Regions from separate parts of the Homo sapiens genome. Here all the other regions are linked to region 1. The links are contacts of gene promoters, found by promoter capture Hi-C in human tissues and cell types (Jung and others, 2019). All regions are on one chromosome and are shown on one strand. Each heading gives the region's core, a stretch centred on a gene start or on the middle of the fragment in contact. The rest is flanking DNA. Distances are from core to core; before and after follow the strand shown.

What was found. Contacts are between HindIII fragments. The study calls those that stand out against the background at their distance.
Region 2: a contact is called between the fragment with the promoter of COL18A1 here and the fragment with the promoter of PCBP3 in region 1, in 4 of the 25 tissues and cell types used here (heart left ventricle, hippocampus, small bowel and 1 more).
Region 3: a contact is called between a fragment that was not itself captured here and the fragment with the promoter of PCBP3 in region 1, in 3 of the 25 tissues and cell types used here (IMR-90 fibroblasts, heart left ventricle and liver).
Region 4: a fragment that was not itself captured here is called in contact with the fragment with the promoter of PCBP3 in region 1 in 5 of the 25 tissues and cell types used here (H1 embryonic stem cells, IMR-90 fibroblasts, hippocampus and 2 more).
Region 5: a contact is called between a fragment that was not itself captured here and the fragment with the promoter of PCBP3 in region 1, in 3 of the 25 tissues and cell types used here (IMR-90 fibroblasts, lymphoblastoid cells and stomach).
Region 6: a fragment that was not itself captured here is called in contact with the fragment with the promoter of PCBP3 in region 1 in 5 of the 25 tissues and cell types used here (IMR-90 fibroblasts, aorta, lymphoblastoid cells and 2 more).

What each region holds. Positions count from the first base shown.
Region 1 is chr21:45,641,849-45,645,246 of GRCh38, reverse strand. It overlaps PCBP3 (poly(rC) binding protein 3), which reads right to left and starts at 1,522. Exons shown (of 18, transcript NM_001384156.1): 1 at 1,379-1,522. RefSeq lists silencers at 868-1,007, 1,328-2,317. The HindIII fragment of the contact is 13,348 bases long and covers 1-3,398 here.
Region 2 is chr21:45,403,595-45,406,992 of GRCh38, reverse strand. It overlaps COL18A1 (collagen type XVIII alpha 1 chain), which reads right to left and starts at 1,828. Exons shown (of 42, transcript NM_001379500.1): 1 at 1,752-1,828; 2 at 1,520-1,614. The coding sequence starts at 1,762. It overlaps BNAT1 (breast cancer associated ESR1 regulating natural antisense transcript 1), which reads left to right and starts at 631. Exons shown (of 2, transcript NR_183526.1): 1 at 631-826; 2 at 2,497-3,187. RefSeq lists an enhancer at 1,973-2,673. The HindIII fragment of the contact is 38,297 bases long and covers 1-3,398 here.
Region 3 is chr21:45,866,297-45,869,694 of GRCh38, reverse strand. The region is part of intron 5 of PCBP3 (poly(rC) binding protein 3); the gene reads right to left. Among named protein-coding and RNA genes, the nearest start is that of PCBP3-AS1, 32 kb to the right of the region's middle. The HindIII fragment of the contact is 9,205 bases long and covers 1-3,398 here.
Region 4 is chr21:45,842,568-45,845,965 of GRCh38, reverse strand. All of the region lies in intron 4 of PCBP3 (poly(rC) binding protein 3), which reads right to left. Among named protein-coding and RNA genes, the nearest start is that of PCBP3-AS1, 7.8 kb to the right of the region's middle. The HindIII fragment of the contact is 8,875 bases long and covers 1-3,398 here.
Region 5 is chr21:45,459,348-45,462,745 of GRCh38, reverse strand. The region is part of intron 2 of COL18A1 (collagen type XVIII alpha 1 chain); the gene reads right to left. Among named protein-coding and RNA genes, the nearest start is that of MIR6815, 17 kb to the left of the region's middle. The HindIII fragment of the contact is 3,893 bases long and covers 1-3,398 here.
Region 6 is chr21:45,772,179-45,775,576 of GRCh38, reverse strand. The region is part of intron 4 of PCBP3 (poly(rC) binding protein 3); the gene reads right to left. Among named protein-coding and RNA genes, the nearest start is that of PCBP3-AS1, 63 kb to the left of the region's middle. The HindIII fragment of the contact is 3,374 bases long and covers 1-3,324 here.

The sequences.
Region 1 (3,398 bases), core at 273-2,772:
AAAAAAAATACTGCTCGAAAGTGAGACATCAGTTAGTCGGTCACTGCACTTGTTAGTTTTAAGGCCCCATGTTTTCTGACAGATCTCCAAGCCTGAAAACACCAGAACTATTTCTGCTTCTGTCGTGTGATGATCAATTAGGTCCTTTCAGATCTTGCAAATGATCCCTTTAGAGTGCCACTGTTCTACAAACACTCCTTTTGGGGCCAAAATAGGTATCTCTGACACGCTTTAAGATGATGAATTATTCTTGAATATGAGGAGGACTGGGAGTTAGTTCTCTTAAATAGGGAAGCACCCTTGCACACTCCTTTGGGATCCACATCTGAGAAAGTCCAAAGAAAAGAAAAAGGGCAACAGTTTGCCCCTGAAAGTGAGTTCAATTTCAGAGGGATATGTGAGGGCCTGTGCCAGAGGAATATTTTTGAAATGGGGGGAGTCTATAAGTTGCCCAGTCTAATCTCTAAAGGCCTCTCCGCAAGGCCCTGCTGCTCAAGATTCCTTCTGGCGAATCCCACTCTACAAACACTCAACAACTAAGAGTGCTACTGGCTCACATGGAGGGCTAACAAGACCTGCAAATCCAGGCTGCTCTGAAGGACGGTGGAAGATAACCAACCCCGAGCCACGAGATTTAGGACCCGACTTTTGGTTAACTTTCAAATTTCTTATGCCAGTAATATACTTCAGAGTGGCGCGGAGGGAATTGGAAAACATCACCAGGCAAAAAAAAGAAAAAAACTCTTTCACGAAACAAGACTTCCAATTAGAACACGTGTGGGGACAATAAGAAACACGTTCTAACCACCCCCAAAATTAAAATAAAACACAGCGAGCAACAAGAGAGACCTGCGCGCGCCCCACCGCCCGCGCGCGGCTCTCCGCAGGGTCACCGAGGGGTGAGGCCGCGCTCTCCCGGCGGCCGTCCAGGGGGAGGAGGCCCCGCGCCCCGCCCCGCCGCCCTCCAGCCGCCGCGGCCGCTCCGGGGTGTTCCCCAGATCTCTTCTCAATCAAGAGATGAAATTTGTGCCGTTTTGAAACTGAAGCCTCAAGTAGTCCAGACGTTTTCTGACCCACATCCGAGACGTTCTCGGCTTCCCGCCGCAACTTCCGAATTTGGGGAGGGGGCGGAGGCGGGCGGGCCAGGCCTGGCGACCGCACCTTGAGGGAGCGCGAGTCCCCTCGCTGCCCCGGGCCGCCGCAGGCGCCGGCGGCGGTCGGGGACGGCGCGACCCAGCCCGGGACCCCCGCCCGCCCCGGCTCGGGCGAAGTTTGCCGCGGCCCGGGGTCGCCCCGTCACTCGGCCTCCGTCGGGGACTGGGTCCCCGTAACCCGCAAGGGCGCCCGACCCCGACCCCGCCCGCCACCGCTCACTCACCTGCCCTGCGCCGGACGGCGAGCCCGCGGGCCGGCGGGGAGAGGCCGGGAGGCCCGGGCGGGGTCGGGGCGAGGCGGGTGAGGAGGCGGCGGCGGAGCCTAAGTCAGCCGAAGCGGCGGCGACCGCGGCTGAGGCGGCTGAGGCGGCGGTCGCGGCTTCAGGCGCTCCAGCCCGAGCGCTGCGCGCGGCGCGGGCCCGCCCCTCTGCGCCGCTAACCAATCTAGCGCCGCGCGCCGCCGCCGGCCCCGCCCCCGCCCAAGGGCAGGCTCGCGAAAGCGGGCGCCGCGGGCCAATGAAAGGGCGGAACATCAACCGGCGCGGCCAATCCGAGCCCGGAAAGTTCTCTGGAAAAAGCCAACTCCAGTCAAAGGGGCGGGGGTGGGGCTGGGGGCGGGGCGGGGACCTGGCCCAATGACGCGCGGGGCGGGGCCGAGCATTGGGCGGGGAGGAGGCGGGGCCTCGAACGGGCGGGCCGGTCACTAGTAGTGGGCGGGGTCGTAGGCGGGACATTGAGCGGGCGGGGCAAGAATCGGGGCGGGGGCCTAATGAAGTGAAGCGGGGAGGGGACGGGCAGTGGGAGGGGCAGGTCACATTTGGGGTGGGGTGGGGGCGGGGCAGGGGCGGGGCTGAGTACGGGAGGCCAGGCCGGGGAGAGGCCTAAGTCGGGGCGGGCGGGAGAAGGGCAAGAGCAGTGGGCGGGGCTCGGGGGTTAGGGGATTAGTGCCCTTGCTGGGGCGGGGCCCAGGCTTGGGGCGGGCCTGTGGTGGGCAGGGCCGTGGATGGGCGGGGCGAGCCTTCGTGGGCGGGCCAGGCCTGTGGTGGGCGGGGCGGGCCGTTGGTGAGCGAGACCTTGGTGGACGGGGCGGATCCGCGGTGGGCGGGGATTTGGCGGGCGGGCGGGTGGGCCCGACGGGACGGGAATGGCCGTTGAATTCCCAGCCGTGCCGCAACCCCGAAGGTCCCCCTGCAGCGCCCGCTTCCCGTTCTCTGTGGGCCTGGCCCCGGCCCGGAGGCTGGGGCCGCAGCGCCCGGCGGGCAGGGGCCCCGAGCGGCTCGTGAGCCTGTGCCCAGACGCTGCCCGCCCCGCGCTGGTCCCGCCGCCCTGTCCCCTCCGCCCGCCCGGCGTTCGCGTGCCGTGGCCTGGGGCGGGGCGTTGCTGGGCCCCGGGGGCTGCAGGGGGAGGCCGCCCTTTCTCTGGGCTGGCTCCGGGCTGTTCCGCTCCGCGCCGTTTTCCCGGTACTTCCCGCGGAGCCCGCCTCGCTGTGCGTCCCCGCCCGGGCGTTTCTTCCGCGGCGCTGAGCGCCCGCCCCGGCCTCGGGCAAGGGCAGCCGGACGCCCCGAGGACCAGGGCGCTGGGGCCGAGGCGCGTCCTCCGCAGTCGCCGCGCCTGGGCCCCGTTTCCCCGCGGGTCCTCGCCGGGGTGGGAGGCGCCTCTTGGCGTCCGTGGGGAGCTGGGTGTGGGGGGCGGCAGGGCAGGAGGTGGGGGGGCTGAGCCGGAGAAACGTCCTCGCCCCGCCCGAGACCTCAGACACCCCAGAACCTCGGGCCGGCAGCCAGCTGCAGGAATCGCGCCCTAAAGCCTGGGGTCCGCGCCCGCCCGCCTCCCGCGAGCGCCAGGGGCTGCCGGGTCACCGGGATGCAGCCTCGAGGCGACGTCACAGACCCCACGCGGCCCCCCGAGCACCCCCGGAGCCGGCGCGGGGACAGGGGTTCGGGATGGACGGAACCCACGCAGGGAACGTTCCGGGCCGTCTACGCCAGGCTCAGGGCGGCCGTCAGCTGGGGTTGGAGGTGGGTCAGGAAGAGATGTGTCCTTTTGTCTCCAAATGTCGCTTGTGTCATTAAAAGACAACCTTAAAATAGAAGAAAAAAAAAAAAAAAAAGCCTGGGCTGGCGTGAGGAGGGGCCGTCCGCGAGCTACGGAGGCTGAGTCGGCGGGGAAGGGAATGTGGAGTGGGGCGGGGGGGGCGCTTGGCGAACCCGTGCTTTGGACGCGCTTGGCGGTTTCGGGGAGAATGAG
Region 2 (3,398 bases), core at 579-3,078, 240 kb after region 1:
GGGCCTTCCTGCCCCAGAGTGCTTGAGGCTGGGGCAGGCCCGGGACAGAAGAGGAACGCACAGCCCATTTGGCCAACCGTAACTTTCCCTGCTGAGGCCTGCACTGACTTTACACCCCACTCTTAGATCTCAAGATTGCATCTCACCAAAGCTCGCGTTAACAGTTTTTGTTTTTTCTATTCAAAGGCAAAAAAACCATCACCTTTTACATCTCCTCCTTGATAACGTTTCATAAGCTCGGGCTTGGGCCCCAGCGTCTTTCCTTTCCTTTGTCCCTGTGCGATTTAAAACATCCCGCCCAGGGAGCCCTGGTCTGGGCCCTGTGGGCGCTGGCGGCCCGGCTCAGAGGGCAGCTCTGCGGCCTGATTAATGGCCCCGAGTGACCCTGGGCCGCTGTGGGGATGGAGCCGCGTGAGCTCACAGCCGCTCTCCGCCCGTGTTTCACCCCCTAGAGTTCACACAGTAAATGAGGAATTGTCTACGACTCAACAAGCAGGTGTTTTCAATACATCTACTTATAAGCTAGCTACTTTTTTGAAAGGTCTATGCTACTATTTAACCTGGTGACTAAGTCGATTGGAAACAATGAAACAAATTATTACAGGAATCCAGACGACATCCCTCCCTCCCCCTTTCCTGCTTCCTCACCCGCTGTAGCAAGCAGGTGTGGAGTCGAGTCGGAGGCAGGCGCTGGCTGCGTGGACCCCCGGGTGGGATTCCACCCGCGACAAGGCACCCAGGCCCTTTGGGCGGGGCTCCCCTGGGGTCCGCGTCCCCGCCGCCTCCCCCGGGCCTCTGCTGGGCTGGCTGGAGGCAGGAGGCCCCGGTTAGCAGGTGGTGGGGAACTGGGTCCCGGGGTTGGAGGCAGGAAGGTCCCCACGGGCCCCGCGCACCGTTTGCCGCGCACGGGAAGCGGCGAGGCCGGCGGGGCAGCGGCTTCTGGGCATTGTTCTCGGACCGCGCGGCGCTCGGTTGGCATCAAAGGGGACCGCGCAACCCGACACCACGGCGGGCGCGGGGACAGAGGCCTGAGGGCGGCGGGGACAGAGGCGCACAAGGCCCGGCCCGCGGCGAGGAGCCTCAACAGGTTGGAAACGCGGAGACGACGCCCCGCGCTCCGCCGCCTTCCGCCCGCGGTCAGTCCCGGGACCCGGCGCTGCGGGGACGAGGCCGTGACGGCGACAGAGGCCGCGTCTCCCGAGACCCCGCGGCCCCGCCCCGAGCCCTCCCGGCACCGACGACCCCGCCGGCCGCGGAGGTTCGGTCCCCGCGCGGGGACTCCGGCCGCTCGCACCGCGCACCCCTCCCGGCCCGGACCCCGCGGGGAGAATGAATGGGCGGGACTCCGGCCACCCCGCCCCGCTCCGTCCGGCTCCGGCGCCTCCTGCGCGCGTGGGCAGGGCCGGGGCTGAACCCAGAGCGGCCGGGGCGGGGGTGAGGGAGCCGGGCGGGGACCCCAGCCAGGGCGGCGAGGCCGGCGGGCACCGGCGCGAACCTTCCCGTCCCGCCCGGGTCTTACCTGGCTCCGCGGAGGCCGCGCGGACCCCGAGCAGCAGGACCAGGGGCGCGAGCACGTCCAGGAGGCGCCGCCGCCGCGGCCATGGCCAGGGGCACCTGCGCGGGACAGGCACGGGTCAGACCCCGCAGGACCCCCGCGACCCCCGCAGGACCCGGCCGAGCCCCGCGACCCCCGCGACCCCCGCAGCCGCATCTTGGCGTCCCCCAACCCCTGCCCGCAGCCCCGGCCTCACCTCGGCGCCATGCTCTCCCCAGGACCGTCAGCGCCGCGGGATGCTGCCTCCTCCGCCGCGGTGCACCCGCTCGGACCGCCGCGCTGCAGCCGCCGCCGCTGGGAGGCCGGGCAGGGGGCGGGCAGGGGCCGGGCAGGGGCCGGGCAGGGGGCGGGGCGGGCGCGGGCAGGGGGCGGGCGCGGGGCGGGGCCGGGCAGGGGCCGGGCAGGGGGCGGAGCGACGAGCAGGGCAAGGCCCGGGGAGGGGAGAGGGGGGCGGGCGCCGCAGCGGACCTGCGGCTGCGAGGACGGGGCGGGCCGGGACCCGGGGGCGGCGGGGACGGGCGAGGACGGACGGGGACACGTCCCGCCCCGAGGGAACCGCCCGAGGCTGCGACCCAGCACAGGGCCCGGGGGCTGCCCCGCGAGGAAGCCCAGGTTTATGCGGAAGGTGAACACCGCTGCCCGCCGGGCTACGACCCCAGCCCCTGAGTCCGGTGGGGCAGCGGGAAGGGGGGAGATTTGAATAGAGTCACCGCGGGGGGGACGGGACGGAGGAGGAAGCCGGCACCTCCGGCCCGCAAGGCCCCTGCAGGGTCCTGCCCCGGCTGCACGGAGGGACGGACGCGAGACAGGAGGGGCGTGCGAGGGCCAGATCTGTCCCCAGGTCCCCCTGTTCCCAGGGCGCGGCCCAGCAGAGCCTCTTCCTCCCCAGTTCCCAGGCTCCTCCTCCCTCCCAGGTGAAAACCCTGTTTCTATTTCTTCAGGGCCAGCATCCTGAGCCCCACCTGCAGGCCCTGGGCGCTTTCCTCCTGGCAGCTGTGCCCCCACCCGACCGGACCGCTCCCTGCAACCAGAGAGCCCTCACACCAGCAACACCCCCCAGCCTGCTCCCTCCTCGTGTGCGCGAAACTCATGGCACTGGCTTGACGGCTTTCTCTGAAACCCTCTGATTCCGCCTGGCCCATCCACACTGTCCCTTCCCGGCCAGGGCTCATCTCCTATGCCTGGACCAAACAGCGTAGTCTCCAGTCTCCCTGATCTCCCCACACGTGGCCCCACCCATCCTCTGAAGCAGCCCCAGGAGGCAGCAGTGACTTCACACTTCTAGTGCCCGGCCCTCCCGGCCCTCCTCTCTGGGCTTGCTTGCCAGGGTCCTCCCAACCTGACTGCTGCCTCCCACCTCCTCTCCGCCCCTGGAGCTCTCCAGCCGCAGCCGCGGGGCCTGCTTGGGATTCTCCTCTGCTGGCATCATCCCTGCCTGCCTCAGCCTTCCCAGGCCCAATCCTGCCCGATCTCACCTCTTCCCGCCCAGCCACCTGGTCGGGTCCCGACCAGCATCTGCCTTCAAACCTGGAGTCCTTCCCTGAGTGCTTGCGGTGCACTGTGAGGAAGGAAATCAATGTAAAGGATTATGACCCACATTTTTTAAAAATAAAAAGATTAAGGAGAACAGCATAGAGTAGAAGTGGTCATCGCACACTTCTGCAAAACTTTTGTTTCTCAGGTGGATGGAGGAGTGAGTCTGTGTGTGTCTATCAGGGTTTGGTGGTGTCTCTGCAGTGCAGTGGGTGTGTCTGTGTGTCTGCTGTGTGTGTGTCTGTGACCGTACCTTGTGTGCATGTGTGTGCATGTCTCTCTGTGCTGTGTGTGTGCATGTGTGTGTTTC
Region 3 (3,398 bases), core at 654-3,153, 220 kb before region 1:
GTCTCCACACCCATCTCCTCCCAGTGGTGGAGCTGCCCTGGCCACTGAGGAGCTGCACTGACAGCGTCCTGCAGGCTGAGGGCTGCAGCCCACATGCATGTTGACAGCATGATGGAGGAGGGTGGGGACGGCGAGAGGAGCAGGAGCAGGAGCAGCGGTCACCCCAAGCCTCACCTGCACAGTCGAGTCCCAGGGAGCAGCCACCTGCCAGGGTCCTCTGCTGACCTCGGGTCACAGTAGGGGCCCAGGCGGAAGAGAAGGAAGGAAGAGAAGGGGGAGCTGAAGATGACCCCAGGGTGCCCGAGGGGTCTGGGTGGGGTCCAGGGTGGGGCAGCCTGATGGGGGGAAGCAAAGGCCACAACCTTCATACCTTCAAGCAGCCACGACTGCAGACGCTGCCCACTGCCCAGCCAGATGCTCCCGGATTAGACCGAATCCTCCCGCAGCAGCATCCCAGCGATGTGCGCAGCTTCAATCCGCTGACGGCCTGTTAATCCCACAACCTCCCATCAGCCTGCCTCATCTAATTCATGTTTAATGGGTTTGGTTTGTTTTTATTGCATTTTAGTGTCTGCATTGGAGAAAGTTACAGATACTTGGGTGAAAGACAAGCTCTGTATTTCTACTTGCCAGAACGCACACCTTTATTCATAAACACAACCCTAAATACCGCACAGGTAAAATCCATAAAATAAACCTCCAGCTGGGGCGTCTGAATTGTTGAATTTGTTCTTAGTGAATTCCAATGGGAAGAAGTGAGTCTCGTGAGCTTTGCTGTGGCAGGATCTGAAAGAGAAGTGTCCACCGAGCTGCCCAAAGCCAACCCCACGTCCTGCGGGGCTCCTGTCAGTACCACAGGGGCAGGAAGCCCTGGCTTGGGTGAGGACGTCCGCCATGGCTCCCTTCCCTGTCTCGGCCACCCCGTCCTAACGCCTGCCTCCCGGGTTCTTCCCAGTGCTGTGGGCTGCAGTTTCCGGTGACGGGGGGACGTGCAACGGGGATGTGGACAATGTTTCTGGAAGTCTGGCCAGGAGGCGGGCCCAGGGACAGGCTCGCAGAAATGCCCGCCAGACCCGCCCAGGCTGAAGCAGGGAGCTGGGCAGGCATGGGGACCCCGAGACCCACGTGGATTCCTCAATGCGCGGGCCAGACGCCTTAAGGCTCAGTGGCGATTTAAACTGCAGAAAGTCAGACACACACATTTGTAGGTCACCCAGACCTGTGGCTTTTATTGACTGTAACAGCATCGGAATCCTTTATTTAAAAAAAAAAAAAAAAAAAAAGAACAAATAAGTCAACACAAACACCAGCGAAGCTGTTCAGGCTGAGATTCGGCGGCGCAGAGCAGGATGTGGGCCGCCTCCAGGCAGCCGGGCAGGCAGGACCCTGGGGCTCTGAAAACCGCGCAGACAGAGGAAGCCACCCTGCAACCCTGGGCACCCACACCGGGAGGTGCCCCTGTCCCTAGGCTCTCTCCTCCGAGGCACCCGCTTTGTTCTGCGTAAACACCACATTCCAGGTGTTCTGTGACTTGATTTCAAAACCCAGGCATAACCGACAGGCAGTGAAGCGCAGGAGTCTGAAGTGACGGTTTGATGTCCACTCGGCACTTGCCGTATGGCCACTAATTCCGGACGGGCCCACTGCGCCTCCGAGTGAGGTGCCAGACCCCCTGGCTGCCAGCCTCCTGTGGCCTCTTCAGCACCATCTGGCTTGCGCCTTTTTTTGTCCAGCTTTTTGACTCAAAGTAACATTTCTGAGACTCTTCCCCGCTGTGTGTGCGACGGCGCTGGGTTCCAGCTATCGCTCTTCCTCTTACCACAGAGCAGAATTCCACGGCGTGAGCCTGGTCCCGGCTGGCCCCTTCTGCTGTGGATGGCACTGGCCACCTCCAGTGTGGGGCTGAGGAAGGAAGACGCTGCGTCCAGGAGGGCGAGTCTTCTGTGGCCGCAGCCGGACTTGCTGTCCTGTGTTCATGAGAGACAGCTATCCGTCTCCACGATGGGCGCAGCCCCCAGAGCTCCTGCAGCTACAGCGAGCCTGGAGATTTCCCTTCTCTCTCTCTGATAAACAATCACGTCGCAAACACCTGGACCATGTCTGTGCACAACACAAGGGTCGGGTGGCAGATTCCTGGAAGGAGAACTGGCTGGTGGAAGGATATTTGCATGTATAACCTTCACGGCCCGCACCCTCCGCGTGCGGTGAATGCGGGTAGCAGGGGTAGCAGGTGCGCCAGGGACCCCGTAGCGGCACACCCTGCCCGCACGCCCGTGTCAGGTCCTGTATGCTGGTGACTACCATCGGGAAGTCTTTCGGGTCATCCGTATTCTGTTTCTAAGCAGCTGTACGTTCATTTCTAGGTGGTTGCTGCTTTCACGCGGATTCGTGGGGGCTCCATCGCTGTCCTGCGAGCGATGTTGCTGCTCCCACAGGCTGGCCCTGCCTCAGATCCGGCGCAGCAGCCGTTGCGTGCCCGCGTTTTGTTCCGTCCGCCGCCTTCCCTTCCACGCCTGCTCTGCCTAGGATGCCCTCCCCAAAAAGACCACGTTAAACAGCCACACACGCTTCTATGGCTGCTGTGGCGTTGCGTTCGGTGTGTGGCAGAGTACTAAACCGTGTTTTTGAATAGATACCTCAATGACCGATGTCTTTCACTGAATAGTCTTCCCATGCCCATTAATTTAAATACCACTGTTTTTTAAGCAAAACAAAACAAAGCCTCCAGTCCTGCCTGTGTTAATTACTCCTGCCGGATAATGTTCTGTTATGGGATTCCTGTTCCCTTCTTTCCTGTGTCCTTCTGACGACTGTCCCCGACCTCCGCCCTAGTACACGCATCTCCGTGACGGTGCACATGCAGACGGGGGTGGGGTGGGCAGGAGGACCACAGGGAAGGGAGGGGAGAGGAGAGGGGAGGGGGTGCTGGAGCCTCTGGCAGGGGAGAGGGTGTGAGGAGCTGGCTTCTGAACAGGCTTCACGCTCGTGTGCATCTGGGGCCAGCCTGAACACCTCAGCCTCTCTGGGATTGCTCCAGCCACCCCCGCCTCCCACCAGACCCCTCCCCAGGTCCTCTCCTCCCCTAAGGCCATCTGTGGCTGGTTCCTGCCCCAGAGACACAGACCCTTCATTTCTCCTGAGCCCCTGGAGGCCTCACAGCCTCTGCCACAACGTCCCTCCCACCCAGCCTCTGTCTTGGGTTCCTGTTAACCTTAACCATGAGCGAGCAGGACCACATTTTCTCCACAGCCCCTTCTCCTCTCACGTTCCATGAGCCTCTCTTTTGCTCGGCATCAGGGCAGATGGGGCAGGCCCTGTGTCATTTCCTTGCGATAAGAACCCTGGCCTGTGCACCTGGAATTCCTGTCACTGGGCCACAGGTCTGTCTGGTTCATATC
Region 4 (3,398 bases), core at 540-3,039, 200 kb before region 1:
GGAGATGAAGGAGGCATGGGATCCCCTTCCTCACCTCTGGCCTGCTCTGGCTGTGAGACCCCGGGAGTAACAGCAGAGCAATGGCTTTAACATCTTGCTGAACATGCTGAACTGGCTGCCACAACAGATCAGCTTCAAAGGCAAGGACCCCAAGGGTGTCACATTCCCTCCTGGGCACAGTCCAGACAAAAGCAGTGCACTCAGCTGCAAACTACACACATGCATACACATGGCAAAGGCACACACTCACATACATGTGCAAACGGGTGCTTAAGCAGCTCACACACATGCATGCACATGGCAAAGGCACACACTCACACATGTGCACACGGGTGCTTAAGCAGTTCACACACATGCATACACACGGCAAAGGCACACACTCACACGTGTGCACACGGGTGCTTAAGCAGCTCACACACATGCATACACACAGCAAAGGCACACACTCACAAACGTGTACACGCGGGTGCTTAAGCAGCTCACACACACACATACACAGGTGAAGGCACACACTCACACGTGTGGACACAGGTGCTTAAGCAGCTCACATGCATACACATGGCAAAGGCACACACTTACACACATGTGCACACGGGTGCTTAAGCAGCTCACAGCATTAGCCAGGCTCTTAAGAAATGGTTTCAGCTTCACCAGAAGGTTTCAAACCTCAGACAATCACAAGGCAGCATGCTGTCTCTCTGTAACATTCTCCTCATGCCTCTCAGCATCAGGGAAACCGCTTCAGACAGGAAACCATGACTTGGTAAGAGATCATCTGGTGGCAGGTGCCCCTTGCTAACCAAGGCTGGTTAAGATGAACAAAAGGCATAAGAGAGCAGAACTGTCAGTGACCCCTCCGGAGGTGGACTCCTTGAGAATCCAGGTATGGTCCTTTTAGGGAGAACAGTTTAGAAGATATTCAAGCTGATACCTTAAATCTCTGGGGTACCCAGTAAAAAAGTCTAAGAATTCATAAAAGGAAGCTTCTGATGAATGCAAAATTTTGTTCAACCTTAAATAAAGCATATATATATGTAAACTATATATATAAATAAAGCATATATATAAACTTTATATACGTATATAAACTTCATATACGTATATAAAGTTATAACTTTATATACGTATATGAAGTTTATATATAACTTTATATATATGTATATAAACTCAGACCCAGTCTTCTTCTTATGAATCTGCCTGGAGAGGAAGAAAGAAGAACCATGGTTTCATATGTACCAGAGTTTGGACCCTAACGTTGCCACTTTTGTGGGCTAACACCCAGAACTATCTCCATTCTGTCACATCTAAGATGAGGAAGCCACGCTGCCCTTGTGGTGCGCGTGGAACCATGCCGCGGGGAGCACCATTGGCAGGGAGCACCAACACACAGTGCTCACAGAGGAGCGGGGAGACCAGCCTGCCTACCATCTCCATTACTTCTGCCACACAAAATCCTCCAGCCACGCTGAATTCTACCCTGGCAGGTGTCCTGCGGCTGCAACAATGCTGGAGGGAGGGTGGAGAATGTGACCCCAGGGCTCCCTCACCTTGCGCTGGGTGACATCTGGACCATGTGAAGGGCTCTGGAGGGCAGGGCAGCACCACCCACCCCTGCCACCCAATCATAAGAGTCCTTAGGTGCTGGGGCACCTCCCACCCAACGTGTCTATGCTCCATGCAGCAGTGTGCAAGACCTCCCTAAAGTGGGGCTCTCACCAAGACGGCAAAGCATTTCCTAATGCAGTGGGTCAATCGTCCGGCTCAAAGGGCAGCCTTGGAGCTGGACAGACCAGCCCAATGAAAAACAAGCACGGCCTTGTCCGCAACCAGACTGCTGGAGCTGGGGCCTGCAATTTTGGGTAGAAACACTGAGAAGAAAGACTGAAAGAAGGTCAAGGAGAGAGACGAGCATTAATGGAGGAAGAATGCTACAAGAAGGAGCAGTGAGGTCAGAGGTCACAGGCCCCAAATCGCCCAACTGGTGGGAGATGCCAACATACCTCTCTCCTTTACAGTTCACACAAGTATACCCCACAAAAGTAATAAAGATGCAGAATATATTAACAGCACAAACAACATGATAGTGCGTATGTGTGTCTGTGTGTATATAAAACCCTGTACCTGACAAGCAGAGGTAACACATTCTCCTAAGGCTCTCAGAGAACAAAACAAAAATTGATAACGTTTTAGTTCATATTGCAGGTTTCAACAAATGTTGAAAACATGGAGTCCACAGAACATATCTCCTACTCAGTAGGCAATTAAATATCATTAGCAAAAGATAACTTTACAATTCCCTTGGACAAAACACTTTTTAAATGTTTCCAGATAAGAAATAGATGAGATCAGAAAACAGACCTCAACAATAATAAAATTATTGCATGCCAAAATTTGTAGCAAACAGCTGCAACAGAACTCACAGTAAAGTTTATAGCTTTTAAAAGGAGTAAAGAAACACAAAATTAGTGAGTCACGAATCCCATTTAAAAAGTTAGAAAAAGAACAGAAAGTATCCACAGAAAGTGGAAAGGTAATAATAAAGAAAAGTTCAGAAGTTAAGCAAAGAAACAAAGGCAACTGAGAAGATCAGTAAATATAAAATTTGGTTCTTAAAGTCTAAATAATATACAACCCTCTGATGAGATTAATCAAGAAAAACAACTGCGAAGGCACAGGGGATAGTAGTCACGTAAAGGAAGCCATGCCTTCTGGTTCTGGACAGGATGGAATAGACACCTCTCTCCCTATTCTTCCTGCTGAGCACAGCCAACAACTCTGGACATTACATGTGGAACAAACAGAAGAGAACCCTGAAAGCTGGAGGGAAGAAGGGGGACTGGCTGGGCCCTTGGGATTTGGAGAATGACACAGCGGTGAGTTCGCTATTCTTTGGGTTTCTTATTTGTTTGTTCGTTTTGTTTGTGCTTCCTCCTCTATATTTCAGACAGGGCACTGGAAAAGCAACTGAAAAATGCCAAAGGATACACACTGGAAAAAAACAGTCTCAAGAAAATTCTCTCTAGGGAAAGGGATGGGAAAGGAGGAACCTATTAGGTCAGAAAGCATCTGAGAATACCTGCCCTGCTCCATGCACAGGACAGGACGCACACAGCACCCTGCCCGGTCAGAGGGGCTGAGCTGAGAGCCTCGGCTTCCACTCCCACCCAGCAGTACCAAGCACCCTTCTCCCCACCGGTGGTGTCCCCAGGATCCAGGGAGGAGCCTGGATCTCCACCCTAGCTTGCTGGTAACAAGACATCCCTTCCCCATGGTGTCAACAGAGGCCGAAACAGAAGATTGATGTAAGATTCAGACTATCATAACATAATAACCTATACTTCCAGGACACAAACAAAAATTATGTGTCGTGCCAAACATTAGGCATACCTCAACATGAA
Region 5 (3,398 bases), core at 559-3,058, 180 kb after region 1:
GCAAAAGACCTGATGGCAGATCTACTAGACAAAGACTTTAAAATGACTGTCTTAAAGATGCTCAAAGAACTACAGGAAGGTGTGGAGAAAGTCAAGAAAGTGATGTATGAACAACATGGAAATATCAATATAAAAACCTTGAAAGAAACCAGAAAGAAATTACAGAACTGAAAAGTACAATAGCTGAAATTGAAAACATCACTAGAGGAATCTGAAGGTGATTTGAGCAGACAAAAGAATAAATTAATGAGCTTGAAGATAAGATAATGGAAATTTTCAAAGACAAAAGATGAAAGAAAGGTGAAAAGAGCCTAAGGGGCTTGTGGCCACCATCAAGAGACAAGGAAGCATGCATGCCGTGGAAGCTGCAAACAGAAGAGAAAAAGAAAGGTGCAGAGAGACTATCTGAAGAAATAATGGCTGAAAGCTTCTCAAATTTGTTGGGAGACATGAATATAAACAGTTAAGAGCTCAGGGAACTCCAAGTAAGGTAAACTCAAAGAGACTCACACCAAGTTACATTATCATCAAACTTTCAAAAACAGAGAGAGAATCTGGAAAGCAGCAAGAGAAAAGCAACTGATCACATCCAAGGGCTTCTTAATAAGATTATCAGCAGATTTGTCACAGAAACTTTGGAAGCCAAAAGGCAGTGGACCAATATATTCAATGTACTAAAAGAAAAAAAAAACTGTTAACCAAGAGTCCTATATCCAGTAAAACTGTCCTTCAAAAGTGAGGGAGAAATTGGCATTCCCAGATAAACAAAAGCTAAGGGAGTTAATTGCCACTAGACCTGCCCTGCAGAAAATGGTCCAGGGAGTCCAGCAGGTAAAATGAAAGGACACTAGTCAATAACAGTAAGTCACATGAAGAAATGAAGATCTCAATAAAGGTAAATACATGGGCAATTATAAAAGCTGGTATTGCAACAACAGTTTGTAACTGCACTTTTTATGAATGAACCTGGAGGATATTAAACTAAAGGAAATAAGGCAGGCATAGAAGCAAATACTGCATGATCTCACATGTGGGATCTAAAAAAGTCACATTCATAGGAGCAGAGTAGAATGGTGGTTGTCAGGGGCTGAGGTCTAGGAAGGACAAATATGCGTGTGTGCCACAGATGTGGCTAGCAAGGAAGCCTCGAGGGGGGCCCAGCAGCCTGGCTCCAGACTGCTCTTCAGCATTGCAGCAGATGCAGGACAAGGAAGAGCCCTGCAGGGGGGCACCAGGAGACCAGCAGGTGTCCACCCTAATGGTGCAGGCCATCTGATAAGGGGTAGGGACTGGTGCCGGATGGACGGTGCCCATGCACAGAGTGGGGTGCAATGGGGCACAGCTGCCACCCCACTCTGTGCATAGGCAACGGGGGCCTCCTTGACTTACTGTTACTGAGTAGTGTCCTTTCATTTCGCCTGTTGGACTACTGGACCATTTCCTGCAGGGAAGGTCTAGTGGCAATTAACCCCCTTAGCTTTTGTTTATCTGGGAATGCTAACAGGGCACAGCCGAGGCCAGCCCACAGAGAAGAGGAAATGTGACTGTTGGTCGAAGGGTACAAAGTTTCAGTTATGCAGGAAAAGTAAGTTCTAGAGGTCTAATGTACACATGGTGATTACAGCTAGAATACTGTATCGCATATGGCACTTCAAACTTGAGTAGATCTTAAGTTTTCTCACCACACTCACAACGGTAACTGGTTGAAGTGATAGATGTCCACTAGCTTGACCTTAGATATATACAAAAACCCAAATATACGTAAAAGGACCTGCAGGAAGCCCTGTTTGGAGTGCTGTGCTTTTCATTCTGTCTGTGCTTAGTTCAGAATCACACAAGATCTTGTACCCACAGACAACTGCACCCAATGCACTGGGCCCTTGACACTCCAGTAGGAGTTAAATGCTGAGTCACTCTTGGTGCATCTAAGAGGCATGGAGAATTTACGAGAAGCTTAGCCAGCATCATCGAAAAAATATTTGTAGGTTGCCAAGCGGTGAGAGATAAGCATGAGTTATTTCCCAGAGTGGTCTTCTCCCTTCTTAAACCAAAGTTACATGGAAACATCAAACAAATCAAAGCATTTTAAGGAGAAGGGACATTTTCTCAAATTCTGCATTTGACTAAAGGAGCAAGAGGTAAGCACCATATAAGGACACCTGTGTGCCAGTGGCTGGCCCATGGGGTAGGGAGGAGCGATGAAGGAGCAGCCCCTCGGGGCCATCATGGTGACATGACCTTCACGTGCACTCCCGTGGCCTCCCACTGACCTCCGAATGTCCAGTGATGGGGGTGGAGGCAGAGGAAGCCCCAGCCCAGGGGCCTGTGCACCACTTTCCAAGATCACGGGACTCGTGCATTTGAGATGAGCGACTTGGCCGGCGTGTGTGTGGACCTGCCTCCCGAGCACCCCGGTGGCAGCTGTGCCCAGTTGCGCCCCACTCTGTGCACAGGCACTATCCATCCCGGCACTGGTCCCTGCCCTCATCAGATGGCCTGCACCACGAGGGTGGATGCCTGCTGGTCTCCTGGTGCTCCCCGGCTGGGAGCTTGCTTGTCCTGCATCTGCTGCGATGCTGAAGAGCGCTCTGGGGCCAGGCTGCTGGGCCCTCCTCCAGGCTCCCTCCTTGCTAGCCACACTTGCGGCACGCACACGTGTCTGTCCTTCCTAGGCCTCAGTTTCTCACCTGTAAACGGGAACAATACGCAGCTCCCAGGTCAGAGGATGCTTGCCTGTAGGACTCCTTGGAAACATCACCTGCCTCCGGTCCCAGGGGCCAGGGTTTGTGAGAGCTCAGGAGGGGTGTAGAGAGCAAAGTCCAGAGGGCCAGGCACCCGTTGCTGTTGTGGGGTGACACTCCCACAGCCCTTGTGACCTGAGCTCCATGTGTCACTCACAGAGTCCCACTGAGACAGCCCAGGGGGCTTCCTGGAGGCAGTGTCCCGGGCAGCCCAAGCCCAAGCCCCGCTCGCTCACTCTTGGCAGCTGCAGCAAGGGAGCCTCCCTACCCCACCCCGGCCCTCCCGTGTGAGGGGGCCTCACTCCCTTCCTCGTGGACCTGAGGGACAAGCCCACAACACAGCAAAACCCTCCACAGGGTCCCTGCTTGTGTGCTGACCACAGGGTTCACCCTCCCTTTGAGCGCCCCCCACGCCCCAGCACGGCTGCACTGTCCCCCACACTCTCCTCGAGGTGGGCCGGCGGGGTGGACACACAGGGCAGTGCCCAGGACGAGGTGGAGGGGGCGCTGGAGATGGAGCCGGGCAGGAGGCAGCAGGACCCCTCCAGCTCCCCTCCCCTCAGGGGCACATACTCCCTGATCCCTGGAGATGCAGCCAGGGACCTCTGTGGGCCTCGAGGGCTCTGTTCTGGTGCCCGGATCACAGCCCAGCACCCC
Region 6 (3,398 bases), core at 388-2,887, 130 kb before region 1:
GGAGTGGTGGTACCCATCTGTAGTCCTAGCTACTTGGGAAGCTGAGGCTGGTGGACTGCTTGACCCAGGGGTTTGAGGCTGCAGTGAGCTGTGATCATGCCACTGCACTCCAGCCTGGGTAACAGAGTGAGACCCTGTTTCTAAAAATTTTTTTAAATAAAAAAGAAGAGAGAAGAACCAAAGAAAACAAAATCAGAAATGAATAAGGAGGCATTTAAATTAAACTGATACCACAGAAATACAAAAGATCATCAGAGACTATTATAAAAAAAAAAGCTATATACTCACAAACTAGAAAACCTGGAAGAAATGGATAAACTCCTGGAAGTATACAACCTGCCAAGACTGAGTCAGGAGGAAATAAAAATCCTGAACAGACTAATAAGGAATAGTGAGACTGAATCAGTAGTAAAAGCCTCCCAATACAGAAAAGTCCAGGTCCAGGTGAATTCACAGCAGAATTCTACCAAAAGTACAAAGAAAAACTAATACTAATCCTCCAGAAACTACTCCAAAATATCAAAGAGAAGGGAAATCTTCCTAATTCATTCTACAAGGGCAGCATTACCCTGACACCAAAACCAGACAAGAATACAACAAAATAAAACTACAGGCCAATATCCCTGATGAACACAGACACAATAATGCTCAACAAAATGTTAGCAAACCAAATCCAACAGCACATCAGAAAAATAATACACCATAATCAAGTGAGATTTATACCAGGAATACAAGTATGGTTTAACATACAGAAATCAATAAACATGATATATCACATAACAGAGTGAGTGATAAAAACCATATGGCCATCTCAATAAATGCAAAAATGCATTTGATAAAATTCAACATCTCCTCATGATAAAAACTCTCAACAAACTAAGCATAGTGGTAACATACCTCAAAATAATGAAGCCATATATGACAAAGCCACAACCAACATAATACTAGAGAAAAGCTAAGAGTGTTCTCTCTAAGAATTAGAAGAAGATAAAGATACGTACTTTCACCACTCCTATTCAACATAATACTGGAAGTCCTAGCCAGAGCAGCCAGGAAAGAGAAATAAATAAAAGGAAACCAAGTTGAAAAAGAGGAAGTCAAATTGTCCTTCTTTGCTGATGATATAATTTTATCCAGAAAAAACTAAAGTCTCCACCAAAAAGACTTTTTTTTCTTTTTTTTTTTTTTGAGATGGAGTCTTGCTCTGTCGCCAGGCTGGAGTGCAGTGGCGCAATCTCGGTTCACAGGTTCAAGGGACTCTCCTGCCTCAGCCTCCCGAGTAGCTGGGATTACAGGCACGCACCACCACGCCCAGCTAATTTTTGCATTTTTTTTTAGTAGATATGGAGTTTCACCATGTTGGCCAGGATGATCTCAATCTCTTGACCTTGTGATCTGCCCACTTCAGCTTCCCAAAGTGCTAGGATTACAGGTGTGAGCCACCACGCCCGGCCCCATAAAACTTTTAGATGCGATAAATGAATTCAGTAAGTTGCAGGATACAAAATCAACATACAAAATCAGCAGCATTTCCACACACCAATAGTGATCTAGTCAAGAAAGAAATCAAGAAGACAATCACATTTACAACAGCTACACAAAATACCTAGGAATAAATTTAACCAAGGAAAGGAAAGATTTCTATAAGGAAAACTACAAAGTGCTGATGAAAGAAATTGAAGATGACACAAATGGAAAAGCATCCCATGTTCGTGGATACGAAGAATTAATATCATTAAAATGACCATATTGCCCAAAGCAATCTACAGATTCAATGCAAGCCCTATCAAAATACCAACCTCATTCACAGAATTAGAAAAAAAAATTCTAAAATCCATATGGAACCAAAAAAGGGCACAAATAGCTAAAGCAATCCTGAGCAAAAAGAACAAAGCTGGAGGCATTACATTATCTGACTTCAAAATATATAACAAGGGTACAGTAACCAGAACAGTATGGCACTTATATAAAAATAGACACAGAGGTCACTGGAGCAGAATAGAGAACCCAGAAATAAAACCACAAAGCTTCTGGTTTAATAGTCCCATTAAAAAGTGAACAAAGGACATGAATAGACATTTCTTAAAAGAAGACACACAAACAGCCAAGAAGTATGTGAAAAAATGTTCAACATAATCTTCAACAAAGCTGACAAGAACTTACACTGGGGGAAAAGGACACCCTCTTCAATAAACGGTGGTGGAAAAAATTGGATAGCCACATGCAGAAGAATAAAATTCGACCTTATCTCTCACCATACACAAAAATCAATTCAAAATGGATTAAATACTTAAAATGTAAGACCTGAAACTATAAAAATACTTAACTGTAAGACCTGAAACTATAAAAATACTTAAATGTAAGACATGGAACTATAAAAATACTAGAAGAAAACCTAGGGAAAACTCTCCCGGACATTGGTCTAGGCAAAGAATTTATGACTAAGACCGCAAAAGCATAGGCAACAAAAACAAAAATAGACAAATGGAACTATATTAAATTAAAAAGCTTCTGCACAGCAAAGAAAACAATCAGCAGAGTGAAAAGACAACCTGTTGAATAGGGAGAAAATATTTGCAAATTATTCTTCTGACAGAGGACTAACATCCAGAATATAAAGGGAACTCAATCAAAAGGGAAAAAAACAAATAGTCCCACTAAAAAGTGAACAAAGGACCTTAATAGACATTTCTTAAAAGAAGACACACAAACAGCCAAGAAGTATGTGAAAAAAATGTTCAACATAATTAATCACCAGAGAAACGCAAATCAAAACCACAATGAGATGTCATCTTGAACCATTCAGAATGGCTGTTATTAAAAATAGAATGGCCATAATAAAAAAATAACAGGTGTTGGTGAGGATGCAGGAAAAAGAAAATACTTATATATCATTGGTGGGAATGTAAACGAGTACAGCCACTATGGAAAACAGTACAGAGATTTTTCAAAAAAACTAAAAATAAAATTACCATTAAATCAAGCAATCCCACTACTGGGTATCTACCCAAAGGAAATAAAATCAGTATATCAAAGTAGTACCTGCACTCCTATGTTTATTGCAGTACTATTCACAATAATAAGATATGGAATCAACCTAAGTATTGATCAAAGGGTGAATGGATAGAGAAGATGTAGTATATATACACAAAGGAATACTATGCAGCCTTAAAAAAGAATAAAACCATGTCAGTTGCAGCAACAAGGATGGAACTCAAAGTCATTACCTTAAGTGAAATAAGCCAGGCACAAAAAGACAAATATCTTATGTTCTCACCTATATGTAGAAGCTAAAAAATTTGATCACATGGAGGTACACAATGGAAAGATAAATACTAGAGACTAGGAAGGGTGAATGGGGGTTAGGGGAGAGGATGAAGAGGAAAGGAAGTGGATTA